2 separate regions of the Homo sapiens genome follow, and region 2 is linked to region 1. Evidence: promoter capture Hi-C in 16 types of primary human blood cells and fetal thymus (Javierre and others, 2016). All regions are on one chromosome and are shown on one strand. The core of a region is centred on a gene start or on the middle of the fragment in contact, and the rest is flanking DNA. Distances in the headings are between cores, read along the strand shown. Region 1 holds the start of CA10 (carbonic anhydrase 10). Region 2 has its middle 13 kb from the start of TOM1L1.

The links. The method cuts DNA at HindIII sites, captures the fragments that hold promoters and counts their contacts. A CHiCAGO score of 5 or more calls a contact.
Region 2: a contact is called between a fragment that was not itself captured here and the fragment with the promoter of CA10 in region 1, in 2 of 17 cell types (M2 macrophages and erythroblasts). The highest score is 5.4, in M2 macrophages.

The regions. Positions count from the first base shown.
Region 1 is chr17:52,154,367-52,160,796 of GRCh38, forward strand. It overlaps CA10 (carbonic anhydrase 10), which reads right to left and starts at 4,348. Exons shown (of 9, transcript NM_020178.5): 1 at 3,360-4,348. The coding sequence starts at 3,420. RefSeq lists a silencer at 4,903-5,197. The HindIII fragment of the contact is 15,466 bases long and covers 1-6,430 here.
Region 2 is chr17:54,884,937-54,891,056 of GRCh38, forward strand. No RefSeq gene overlaps it. Among named protein-coding and RNA genes, the nearest start is that of TOM1L1, 13 kb to the right of the region's middle. The HindIII fragment of the contact is 320 bases long and covers 1,857-2,176 here.

The sequences.
Region 1 (6,430 bases), core at 3,098-5,597:
ATGTGTGAAAATACCACATAATTCAAATGGTTATTGATGTTATTATTATGAATAAACTGACAAAGAAGTAAAGTTACATAAGGAGGAAGTAGGATGCATTGTAAAAATTAAATCAGGCAGCTCTCGTTTGACCAAGAAATTTCTCTCCTCGTGCTGCTAAGCATACATTCTTGCTGATCTGAGCTGCTTTGGTAGGAAGGGAATGGTGCTCTTGCAGTACACGGAAAAATCATTCTGGTTCTCTCTCTCTCCCTCTCTCTTTCTGTCTCTGATCTCTTCACAGACCCTGGATGCCTTACATTTTCAGAAAAGTGAGATCTGAGTTTAACGGAAAGCCAGAGGAACTCCCAAATCATGCCCTTTAGCCTAGCTATGTTGCATTAAGTAGCCAAAGCTGATGTGATCTCACAAATAAAAGACATACATGCTACTGACCCAGCATCTAGCTAAGCCTGGCCAAACAGTCTCATTTTCCAACAGTTTCATCAAAACCAAATTATTAGTGCAGAACCACCAAATATGCCAAGCCCAGGTGTCTGTACTTTAAGCAATATATCCAAATAGGCCCAAGGAGAAATTTGGGGGTGGGTTAGAGGAAGTGTTGGAACCTTTGGTTAACAAAACACTAAGCTACAAAGCGCCAATGTTTTCCTGAAAGCAAATGCCACCAAATGAAATTCAGTCAATATATCTTCCACATGACAAAGCTACTACCAACATTTTCCTTCTGTAAAGTGTTTAGACTACAGACTTTTACTAGCCTTTTCCAGCCTGGTGTTTCTCAATAATGAAGCCAACTCTATCAATGCTTCAAGTATCAATGTCTGGTAACTCTGTAAGGATTAGCACCCACTTAGTGGTCAGGAAAATTCATTCCAAGATGCTAAAGAGGTGCTTTGTTTTTAATATTTTTAATTTAAGATTTAGTAGATTCTATGATCACAGGGTTATGTTCCTTTCAATAGAGCTCAGTCATGAGTAAATTAAAACTGCAAATCATGGAGACAGAAATGAAAGATCCACTAAACTCTCTCAAAGCCACAAATATTCAACCTTAGTGCATTGCATTTCCTATACATCCTAAGGCTGCCAGATGGAAAAAGAATGGAGTCTGAGTCTCCCAAACTGTAGCAATTGTGAGTCATAATCATATTACTAATAATAATTCTCACATACATGGGCATTACTGAATGAGTGGCTCTGCTTACAGGAGGATGAGGCCACCCTGACCATGGAGAAGAAATGGCCTTTTAAAGTTTATGGATGTGTAAAATAAAGAGTATATGATGTTGCATCCCTGCCTAAATGTCTTCATAAAGTGCAAATTAATGCAGATCCTAACTAGGCATTTGGAACGCTAACCTAGTTTTCTGTGTTTAGCTAATAGCTAGCAATTTTGCTTACACTTTTATCCTCTCATTACATAGCAATAATGATTATTTAGTAAATACATATGAAAGGCCATGTACTCCATAGCACTCCTCCTGAGTTGGAAATCCCCCTCCTAATGCTTCCATTTGAATAATTTAGTTGCTGATACACCAAATCAAATATAGCTGTGACAGGTATCCCACTAATGCTTTTTTTGGAGGCTAAGATCAGACCCTTTCTCAGCCTGTTCCCCTCGGTGATTGCCTGGCGAAATTCAGGGTAAGGGCTGGGGACAGAGAGGATGCTGGAGGAAATCCAGAGCCTTAATCAATGTTAACCCTTTATAAATCTTAAAGGTACTCAGATGGCTTGTCTGATTTGAAAATTATTAATGACACTGGGGAGAAGTAAGGAAAGGCTATTTTATAACTAGTCAAATATTCTGGAACAAGAGAGAGAGTTTGAAATAGACATGTAGAAGAGAAAGATGTAAAATATGGCCTTGTGAGATGCCACCCACTTCATATCTGGACATATGACTGATATAAACCTTTACAAGTCACTTGAGAATTTTCACTCCTAGATGCAGAATGGAATAATAGAAGTCCCACTAGAGGAGTTGGGGTGACCCCAGGGCACATTTTCTTGTCTGCCAGGTACACAACACATCTCACTGATGTATCACAGAGACAAATTTCTTAATAGGGTAGCCAAGCCCCACACAGAATGATTTCGGATAAGAGTCCCATTCCTTCCCTATGAGGAGAAAATTGGAAGCCAGACTGGGATTTGGAACAGAGTCCAGGGTGAGGGCAGAACTAGGGTTGTTTTCTCCTATCCAGAATCAGGTCTGGCTTAAAGGGAGGGGATTGACAGGGCTGAAGGAAGAGGCAGGAAACATGTCTCTCCACCCCAGTGCTGCTTAAATGTGGCTGCTCAAAGGGGCAATATCCTGCTCTCCTCTTCTGATGACTTCATGGGAAGTTGGCCGAGTCCCCACTTCTGCAGAAGAATGCAGGCAGAAGGGAGCACTACAAATGGGCTTTTCCTTGGGTGCTTAAGTGGCAGGTGTGAAGGGAAATGGGGTGGGTGCCTTCAATGGGAGGAGCCACTGAACTGGGGAATACTGCTGGTCCAGGGGCTTTCCCCTTTCCCTCCCAGCTTCCTCCCAACCCCAATTCCCTGCATCAACAAAGACAGTGCTCAAAAACCAGAACTCGTCCTAACACACTCAGGCACAGGTGTCCACAAGCCCAACCTCTTTCACCTCAACACCCTGAAATCCCGTTTGCTCTTAAAAGCACAGACAGGCCCAAGTAGACTGAGAGGTCTGAGCCAGCACATCCTTGCTACTGGGAATTAAAAAACACCGTGATGTAAAGAAAGTGGTATTTGTGACACTGTAGTGCTTTAACAAGAAAATTGGGGGGGTAGAGGAGGGTGTGTCAGCAGGTTTCAAAGCATCACAATCAGTCCTGATGTGTTTGGGTAAGGCATGGAGGACATATCTCTGATCCCTGCTGGTACTCTCCAGTCCCGCATCCTCCCGCAGTCTCTTGAAAGTGGTTAGATACCCGGGCAGGGCCCCGCGTCCATTTTGCCAGCCAGGAACCACCGAGTCTGGGAACTTTGAAAGCCAGGGGATGGGGGTGGTTGTTGCCAAGGCTCGGATTTCGGCGCCAGAGTTCTCAGCCAGGAAAGCAGTTGAAAATCAACACCCATCTGCCTCTTCTTTCTCATCCCCCACCACTTTTTCCTTCACCCTTCTAGGACTGCACACAGATCCTAACCACCCCCCCCCGCAAAACACACACATTCACACACCCTTGGGCTGAGAAGATTTTTGATTCTGAAGGCGGCAAACCCGCAGAACTCAAAGGGTCTCGCCACCCCTCTCTCTGCCCCGCGGCTATATACAATAAAACCCCATACACCCCAGACATCACAACATAATCCAAATCAGCCAGTGACTTCGGCGCGTCCCGTACCTGATATGCAGACGATGAAATTGGCTTGAAGAAGAAAAAGCACCTCCCAGACTATTTCCATCCTCTGATTCTCATTCCAAGTGCATCACTCGACGGGAAAACGGGGGGAAGGGGGGAGCCCGACACGGCACACACACATACACACTCGCACACACTTCCGAGCGAGTGCACACTCGCACTCCCACCCGACAGCCGGCCAGGGACAGTCACCCCCAAGATCAATATCGCAGTTTGAATTGTTCCGGCAAATCTCCCCTCGGGCTCGACGGATGTGCGCCCCAGATGTGCTGACACATGTCCGATGCCTCGCTGCCTTGGAGGTCTCCCCGCTCGCGTGTCTCTTCTCTTCGCACCAGCGGCGGAAACCGCACTAGCAGCGGCGGCGGCGGCGGCGGCGGCAGCAGCCACCTGAAGCCACCAACACTGGGCTCTTCCAGCAAAAACGAGACCCCGATTCGTCTGGCGCCCCAAGAAGACATAGACGATAGCCCCCCGCCGGGCTGCGCCGTGCAATTCCGGGCTCCCGGGAGCGCGTAGCTCGCTGGCTAAGCCCAGGCAGTCCGCGGCAAGTTGCCCTCGAAGTCCGCCCCCCTCACCGGGGCATGGTCGGAGGGTGGCTGCTGCGCTCCGGGGCAGTTCTTCTCCTGCTTCCGGGGGGCGGGGAAGGAGCAGACACAGCAGACACACAGAGAAAGAGAGGCAGGGATTATTGCCCGAAACCGCCAGCCGCCGGCAGCCTCCGCCGACCCTCCCTGCTCCCCAGGTCCGCGCGCAGCCTGCAGCCTCTCAGCCGGGTTCCGGCAGTGCGTCCAGGGCGCCGAGGGGAAGGGCTGGGCCCCGGGGACTGGGGCGCGGTGGGGGCACACAGACTCTCCAGGTCGCGCGCGCCCTTCCTGCTCCTCTGCTATTTTCCTGAACTCCCCAGAACCCCCAGTTGCCTGGCTTCCATCGCCCGCAACTAGCGCCGCTGTCGAGATTTTCCGCAATACAACTGCAGGGGTCGTTATTTCCTCGCCTACGGATCCCTACGCTTCCCAACTCAGAGAGGAGGAGGACAGGTGGGGGCGGGAGGGGGAGGAGGAGAAGGAGGCTTGGCCAGGTGAGCGTCCTCGCCGCCGCCGGGCGTCCCAGCGTCAGCTCCGCAGCCCGGCACCCGGGGGCGGAGGCAGGAGGCCCGGGCGGGGAGGTGAGGCTGAGCGCGGCCATGAGGAGGAGGAGGAGGAGGCTGGGTGTCACAGCTTCAGGCCACCTTGGCCGCCGCCTCGGCCCCAGTCCCTGGCAGCCGCCTCCGCACTCCGCCCCGCCCTGGCTGCCTCTGTTACCCTCCAGGATTTTCGAGTTTCTCTTCTTAAAAAGAACTTCGTGCTGCGGGTTCGGCGCGGGAGACCCAGGCAGGACTCATCCTGGGAGTGCTGTGCTGTGCTCTCCCTCCGCTGCGAAATATTGGAGATTTTTTTGCATAATTCATTCCCTGCCCTCTCCATTTCGTCCCTCTCATGCCCCCCACCCTTTACCCCTTTCCGTGCCAGTGCCAGAACACTACTTACCCCAGAGTTCTTTTCTCTGCAGGTTCCTAGACCAGGTGCAACTCTTGCCTGCAAGTCCCTGCCTCCCTCCTCCCGAAAAGGGGGAACACCGCCTTTCCAAGTCCGGGTGCCAGCAGCGGCTGCTGCCAACTGCGCCTTCGCCCAACTCCAGGAGGATCCGGGACTATTGGAAACCCGGGCTTTAGAGGAACGGGCTTCCCTTCTTGTCTTTCTTTTATTCTGCTTTTCTTTAGGGAAGCTCTAGTGCTTTGGAGGCTTTTGCTGGGCTCCAGGATACTTTCCGCCAACGACACTCAGCAGCTTCCACTGAAGGAGATTTCCCCACCAAACCCGCGCGCGCACACACACACACACCCAGCGCGCGGCTCTCCAGGGCCCCAGGGGAAAGTAGGGGCGGCGCGAGCACCACCCACCCACCCAGGCCGAGGCCAGGGGCAGCCAGTCCGCAGAAGGTCTCGTGGGGAGGCGGGCTGTCTATAACCTAGGAAAGACTTGCACCCGGTTGCAGTGTGGATGCAGGGGAATTGAAGAAAACCCTGTGCTCAGAACTGCTTGCCTAAGAGGGCTGGGAACGAAAGGGGAAAGACAAAATCTCAACAGATTTGTCTGCTTCCATCGCTGCAGTGGTGGTTTGCGAAAGCTCAAACCTACCTCTTTGGGGTTATTGAAGAAGAGGAGGGAGCGTAGAGGGAATCCCTGGGAAGATCCAGGATTTCTCGGCGCGCTTGTCCCGATTGGGAACTGTGACGTTAGGAGATTTTGCACAAGCGCGGATGAACACACACATAACAAACACAAACACACACATACCCCGCGGGGATTTTTTATCCACTTTTAATATTTGATGTTTAGAAGCTATTTCAGTATAAACCTCGGTCTAAGAACTGCACAAAGGGTAGATAAGTGGAGATGGAGGAGGGGAAGGAAAGGGTGCCCGTTCATCCGCACAGAGTCAATCTAGTGAATCTTCCCGTGTTGATCCCAGCACCCAGGCTGTGCGACATCTGAGGGTGCGGAGTGGGAGCTAAAGGAGTTACATTACAGTGCTCCCAGGGTTCTTGAAGGGACTCCAACTGCCCAGGAGTCTGGCGGGTCTTTTTGCTGAGTGGCGGGGAGAAGAGGGAGGAAAAAGAGAGAACGCAGAGCAGATCAGCAGCTCTCTGAGCTGTCTGGGCTGGGCGGCTGCGGGAGCCAGAGCTACGTAGTCCCACCGACTCTAGGGATTCGAAAAAGGAACCGCCGACAGACCTGCCTACTCTTAAAGAAGGAGATGTGGCCGTGAGATCTGTTCTGTGAAACAAAGGCCAAGGACTCTAGGTGGTCAACACATTAAAAATCTAGGCCCAGATGAAATAAATCCAGCATTCTTATGTAGAGAGCTTCCAGGCTCAGCAGGGAAAAGCATGAAACTTCAGAACATTAAAAGAATTCCGGATAGTGAGAATTAGCCCATTTGGGAAATATATGGGGGCATTTGTCTCCGTGCCTTGAAAGTAGACTGCATGAAGAATTATTATTATTTTT
Region 2 (6,120 bases), core at 767-3,266, 2.7 Mb after region 1:
AGTTGCTCTGGGTGAGTTAGGGTGTGAGTGGTGACTGAATGTTAAAGCTAGGACATTACTGTACACCACTGTAGACTATGGAAACACTGTACACTTAGGCTACACTAAATTTATTTTAAGTATTTGCTTTAATAATAAATTAACATTAGCTTACTGTAACTTTTTTACTTTATGTGATGGTTAATACTGAGTGTCAACTTTAGTGGATTGCAGGATGCAAAGTGTTGATCCTGGGTGTGTCTGTGAGGGTGTTGCCAAAGGAGATTAACATTTGAGTCAGTGGGCTGGGGAAGGCAGACCCACCCTTAATCTGGTGGACACTACCTAATCAGCTGCCAGCCAATATAAAGCAGGCAGAAAAACGTGAAAAGGCAAGACTGGCCTCGCCTTCCAGCCTACATCTTTCTCCCATGCTGGATGCTTCCTGGCCTCGAACATCAGACTCCAGGTTCTTCCAGTTTGAGACTGGGACTGGCTCTCCTTGCTCCTTGAGCTTGCAGACAGCCTTGTAGGACCTTGTGATCATGTAAGTTAATACTTAATAAACTCCCCTTTATATATATACACACACACACACACACACACACACACACACATACACACACACATATGCTATTAGTTCTGTTCCTCTAGAGAACCCTAATGCACTTTACATATATTTTAATTTTTAAACTTTTTGACTCTTTTATAATAACATTTAGCTTAAAACACAAACACATTGTACAGCCATACAAAAATATTTTCTTTCTTTATATCCTTATTCAGGCTATATATCCTTTATATTTTTTTATTTTTTAAATTATTATTAGTTTACTTTTAAGCTTTTTTTGTTAAAAACTAAGACACAAACATACACATTATCCTAGGCCTACACAGGGTCAGGATCATCAATGTCACTGTCTTCCACCTCTACATCTTATCCCACTGTCTTCAGGGGCGATAGCATGCATGGAGCTGTCATCTCCTGTGACAACAATGCTTCTGGATACCTCCTGAAGGACCTGCCTGAGGCTGTTTTACAGTTAACATTTTTTTAATAGGTAGAAGAAATATACTCTAAAATAATAACAAAAAACATAGTAAATATATAAACCAGTAACATAGTTGTTTAGTATTATCAGTATTATGAGCTGTGCATAATTATATTGCTATACTTTTATAAACCTAGCAGAGCAGTAAGTTTGTTTACACCAGTGTCACCACAAACACATGAGTTATGCTTTGCATTACAATGTTAGGACAGCTATGATGTCACTAGGTGATATGAATTTTTCAGCTCCATTATAATCTTAAGGGACCACCATCGGATATGCCACCTGCTATTGACCTTAGCGTTCTTATGTGTTGCATGACTGTATTGAGGTTTGAGGACAAACCCTGCTAGAAATAAACTGTTTATTCTTTTTTGACTGCATTATGTTTATATCATCCCAAGGGACTTTGCTCAAGTTTTTCCAGGTGACCTAGCCCAATCCCATCCTCATTCATTCTATTAATGACATCCCTAACTTTCCCTTCCCACCTCAATAGAAAATGCAAGCCCAAACTGAGTCAGTGTTTTCCACCTTGGTGTCTTTCCTTTTAAAAATGCTGTTCTAGGTAGCTAAAGATATTCTGGTTGTGCTCCCCACTTTCAAGTGGCAAGTTTTTTTTGTGAGTCAATTACTAAGAGTCTTCAGGACTTTCTACCCAGCACTTGCCTAGTAATTTGCTATGACCAACCTACAGCATCTGTCAACTCTTCCCATGGATTAATAGATCTGTAATTAAAATCCAACAGAGAGCCCCAAAATTAATTAGGACATGAAACAGCCATGTAAGCAGCATGGAGCACAGCTCTGTATAAAGAAAAGACAAGCTTCATGTAAAACAAGTGTATACCCCAGGCAGGCCTCTGTCCATCTCTCATCAGCTGGCCCCTGAACTGCCTGTTTCTGATCTGTAAACTCATTGTGAAAGTGCCTAATAGAGGGCAGCCACACAGTGGGTAGCAATACATCGCAGTGACTGCTTGACTCTTTACTTGAAATATAATCCTCAGGGGAGCTTATTTCTTCTATTTACAGAAAAAAGGAAATTTTAGAGAGATGAAATATCTCATTGCTCACACCTAGGTTTTCCCTTCAGATCTCCATGCTCTGTGGATGAAGACTTCCTTTAAGTTTTCTGGAGCCTAAGCTTATGGACATAATGTCATGAAAGCAGGATAGTGCTGCACATGTATCTGCTTCTTACTGTGAGACCTTGGGCAAGTTATCAATACTCTGTGCCTCAGTGACTAGCACATGGCAAGTGTGCAAATGCCAGGTATGTTATTAATGCTGATTGGCCTCTAACAGAAAGATAATGGTAGTGATGTCTATTTTCTCTTGTTCTCAAGAGGTTATACCTAGGGGGTCCATATGAACTTTAATGTACATCCAGATTTATAAAAAACGGTTTCTGAAAGCAAGGTGCCATGTTTTATGCAACGTTTGGCAATTAACTGTTTTCTGTTGTTGTTGTTGTTTGTTTGTTTTTTTAATAATGAGGCCAGGTGCAGTGGCTCCCACCTGTAATCCCAGCACTTTGGGAGGCTGAGGCGGGTGGATCACCTGAGGTCAGGAGTTCAAGACCAGCCTGGCAGACATGGTGAAACCCCATCTCTACTAAAACTTAGCTGGGCATGTTGACACAGCCTGCAATCCCAGCTACTCAGGAGGCTGAGGCAGGAGAATCGCTTCAACCTCGGAGGCAGAGGTTGCAGTGAGCCGAGATTGTACCACTGCACTCCAGCCTGGGTGACAGAGCGAGACACCATCTCAAAAAATAAAAATAAAAAATAAAAAAAATAAGAATGAGCCAGAAGTAAAATGTCCTTCAACATACCTATGAAAGGAGATATATTAACACATCCAAGAATTCACTCCTTCAATGATAAAACGTCCTTCTACCCTGAATAGCTACAAAATTGTACCTTTTTTCTTGTATGGTGGAAGAAGAGAATGGAAATTTCTTCCAAAATCGAAGTTGTCTTAAGATTGGCAGCCAGAGCAGGAGGCCATAAAACACTGTCAGAGATGACAAGGGTTGAATTAAGTTCCAGGAACTGTTAAGAGCAATGTGAAGGACTCATCTCTGGTCAGAGATAACTGGGCATAAAAGCGTATTGATTAATAATGTAACCTTCCTTTAAACCTTTTCCCAGGCAGTCCAGAAACCTTCACTGCACTCAGGTGAGAAACATGAAAAGTTTTTCCTCAAGATTTTCAATAGAAGCAACAACTGCAATAAACCAGACTTGTCATGGAACAGTTTTCACCATATGGGGCCCTGATGCCTCACTGAGCAGTGACTGTCAGGCCTGAGGTGGGTACACATCCATGCTTCCTCCTCGTCAAATGCCCCCAGAGAAACTGGCTGTGCATTTTCAAGAAAAAAAATGACTTAGGCTTACTCAATCCATTCAGCGACTAGGCAGAAAGTATAAAACAAATGATGGAGAAATCTCCCAACGTAGCCAATATTTGCTGATAAATATTTGACACACACCTCTGGTTCCCAACCTACAGAAAGAAGAGAATGTCACCTAGGCTCTTCGGAGTTGTCAGAAATAGATATTCATCGAGGTTACCTCTAGCAATGGAAAATCAGCTGTGAGGCTACATGTGGAAATAGGAAAAACATAACTCCTCCAGGAACCCAGCGATGGCTAGACTGAAGGTGGAATGCAGATTAATCATGGTAAGATTATTTTAGGACACACAATTCCCAAGACCCACAACCCCCACCAATGTGAATTTTCTCCAATTCTCTAGTCTCGATCCTATTAACTAACTACCCCACCCTCTAGTTGGTTATCTTTTTAAAATATTTTCATTTTACTTTACTGATAGCTTCTGATTACTCTTGGCTCCTGATGCAGCTGATCCCACTAACAATTGCTCTGTCTGTCCATCTGTCTGCCTATCTAGAGACACCAGTTATTACAAAGATCTCATACAAGGTCCCTGCCAGGCCAACATATTGGGACTGGCTAACAGATTTGTCACCCTTACTTTGGATGCCCCCTCCTAATCGAATCAGCCAAAATGCTGGGGTCGAATGATTCAGCACAGGGATTTTCCAAGTATGACCTGCAGGGCAAACCTGACCTGCCATCTATGTTTGTACATTCATTAGTTTATATATCGTCCATGACTGCTTTTGTGCTACAATGGCAGACAGAGTTGACTAGATGCCAGCAGAGCTTAAAATATTTACTACCTGGCCTCTTACAGACAATATTTGCTGATTCCTGATTGAGAATACGGATAAGCGTTCAGTGTAAGAAAGTGCACCGGAAAGGAACTGTAAATGGGTTTTCTTAGGAAGGGCTCAGGAGTATAGCAGATATTCTGAGGCCAAAGATCTCAGGGAAGCTGCAGGTTGGTCTTCTTTGGTCCATATACACGCCATACACTAAATAAACATGTACACATACAAGTATATACTTATATATGTATGATTTTACATGAAAAGTATATACAAGTATATACTTATATATGATTTTAAATGAAGATATAAATTAATTCATTTAAAAGTGAAACTGATTCTATACTATCTTTAATAACTTTTTTTTTAACATGAATCAGAATGCAACTCTAATCACGATGCAAACCCCTGATTTAGCAATATCAAAACTGTACATGACCTGTTTTGCATTCCTATTTAGCCCTGGAATGCAACCAATGCTATTGTTGTTCCTATGTTTTTGTAAGGAACATGGTTGGTAGGACATTCACTTTATAACTTGGGGCTAAGACTAATAGAAAATACTATGATTTCTACCACTTTCATCCCTACTACTTTTGAAGCTCATCCTGATCTTTTTATAATTAAGAAGCTTAATGAGGAAACATTGTGTGACTACTAGGCTCAAGGACTTGAGGAAAAGTAAATTTTCTGCCCATCTGCATGAAGAATTAACTTTGTCCACTGGTTTATAATTTCTTCCTTACTTGATTGTGAGCACTGAGCACTTGGGATGCAGAGATTGGATTTTAGCTTGTTCATATACACTAATTCCTAGCATCGTGACTGGCGCATTTGGGGACTTCATTATGTGTTTGTGGAATGAATGAGTGCATGCTGTCATATGTTCTCATTGCTCAGTTGGTAAAGCTAACATAGAAGGACTTATAACTGTAAAAGACACTAGGACACCTTTGTAACTGCTCTCACCACTACAGAGATGGGCTAGCACTGAAAAGTAAAAGTTGTCTCTATAAAAGAGTGAGGCACAGAATACGTGAGTTTCAGACTGACCAGAGCTCTCTTCCCCTACGTTGCATTGGTCATTACACTATTTGGTCATCACATTATTTGTTCTCAGGCCTACACTAACAGGCCTGGGTCTAACCCTATGCTGCCCAGATCTTTAATCCAGGACTCAATCCTCCATGCAAAGTTAGTTCCTGGTTTGTACTCCCATGATACTGTGTCCATATTTTTGTTTAACACTTAGACTGAACTGCAATGATCTGCTTACTAGGAAGTTTCCCTCACTGGCTTAGAAGTCCATGTTGTACCTCTGTATAAAATTCAATAATGTGTGATAAAGGAAGGAAGGAATAAATGAGCTAATAAGCATGTAAAATATAAGTCACTATCCCCTTTCATCTCCTTGATGATTTAAGCTGATTGATCGTGACATCCATCCTCGTTAGACCCACCTTCAACCTCTCCCCTTTCTTAATGGTTTTGCCTCTCCAAACGGTCTCCAACAATAGTTCAAAGTTGGGGCCAGGTGTGGTGGCTCATGCCTGTAATCCCAACACTTTGGGAGGCCCAGGTGGGCGGATCACTGGAGGTCAGGAGTTTGAGAGCAGCCTGGCAAACATGGTGAAACCCTGTCTCTACTAAAAGTACAAAAAAAAAAAAATTAGCTGGGTGTGGTGGTGTATGCCTGTAATCCCAGCTACTTGGGAGGCTGAGGCAGGAGAATCTCTAGAACCCAGAGGCAGAGGTTGTAGTGAGCCAAGACTATGCCACTGCACTTCAGCCTGGGTGACAGAACAAGACTCCGTCTCAAATAAATAAATAAATAAACCTCACACACAAACACACACACACACACACACAAAGTTTGCATAACTATAG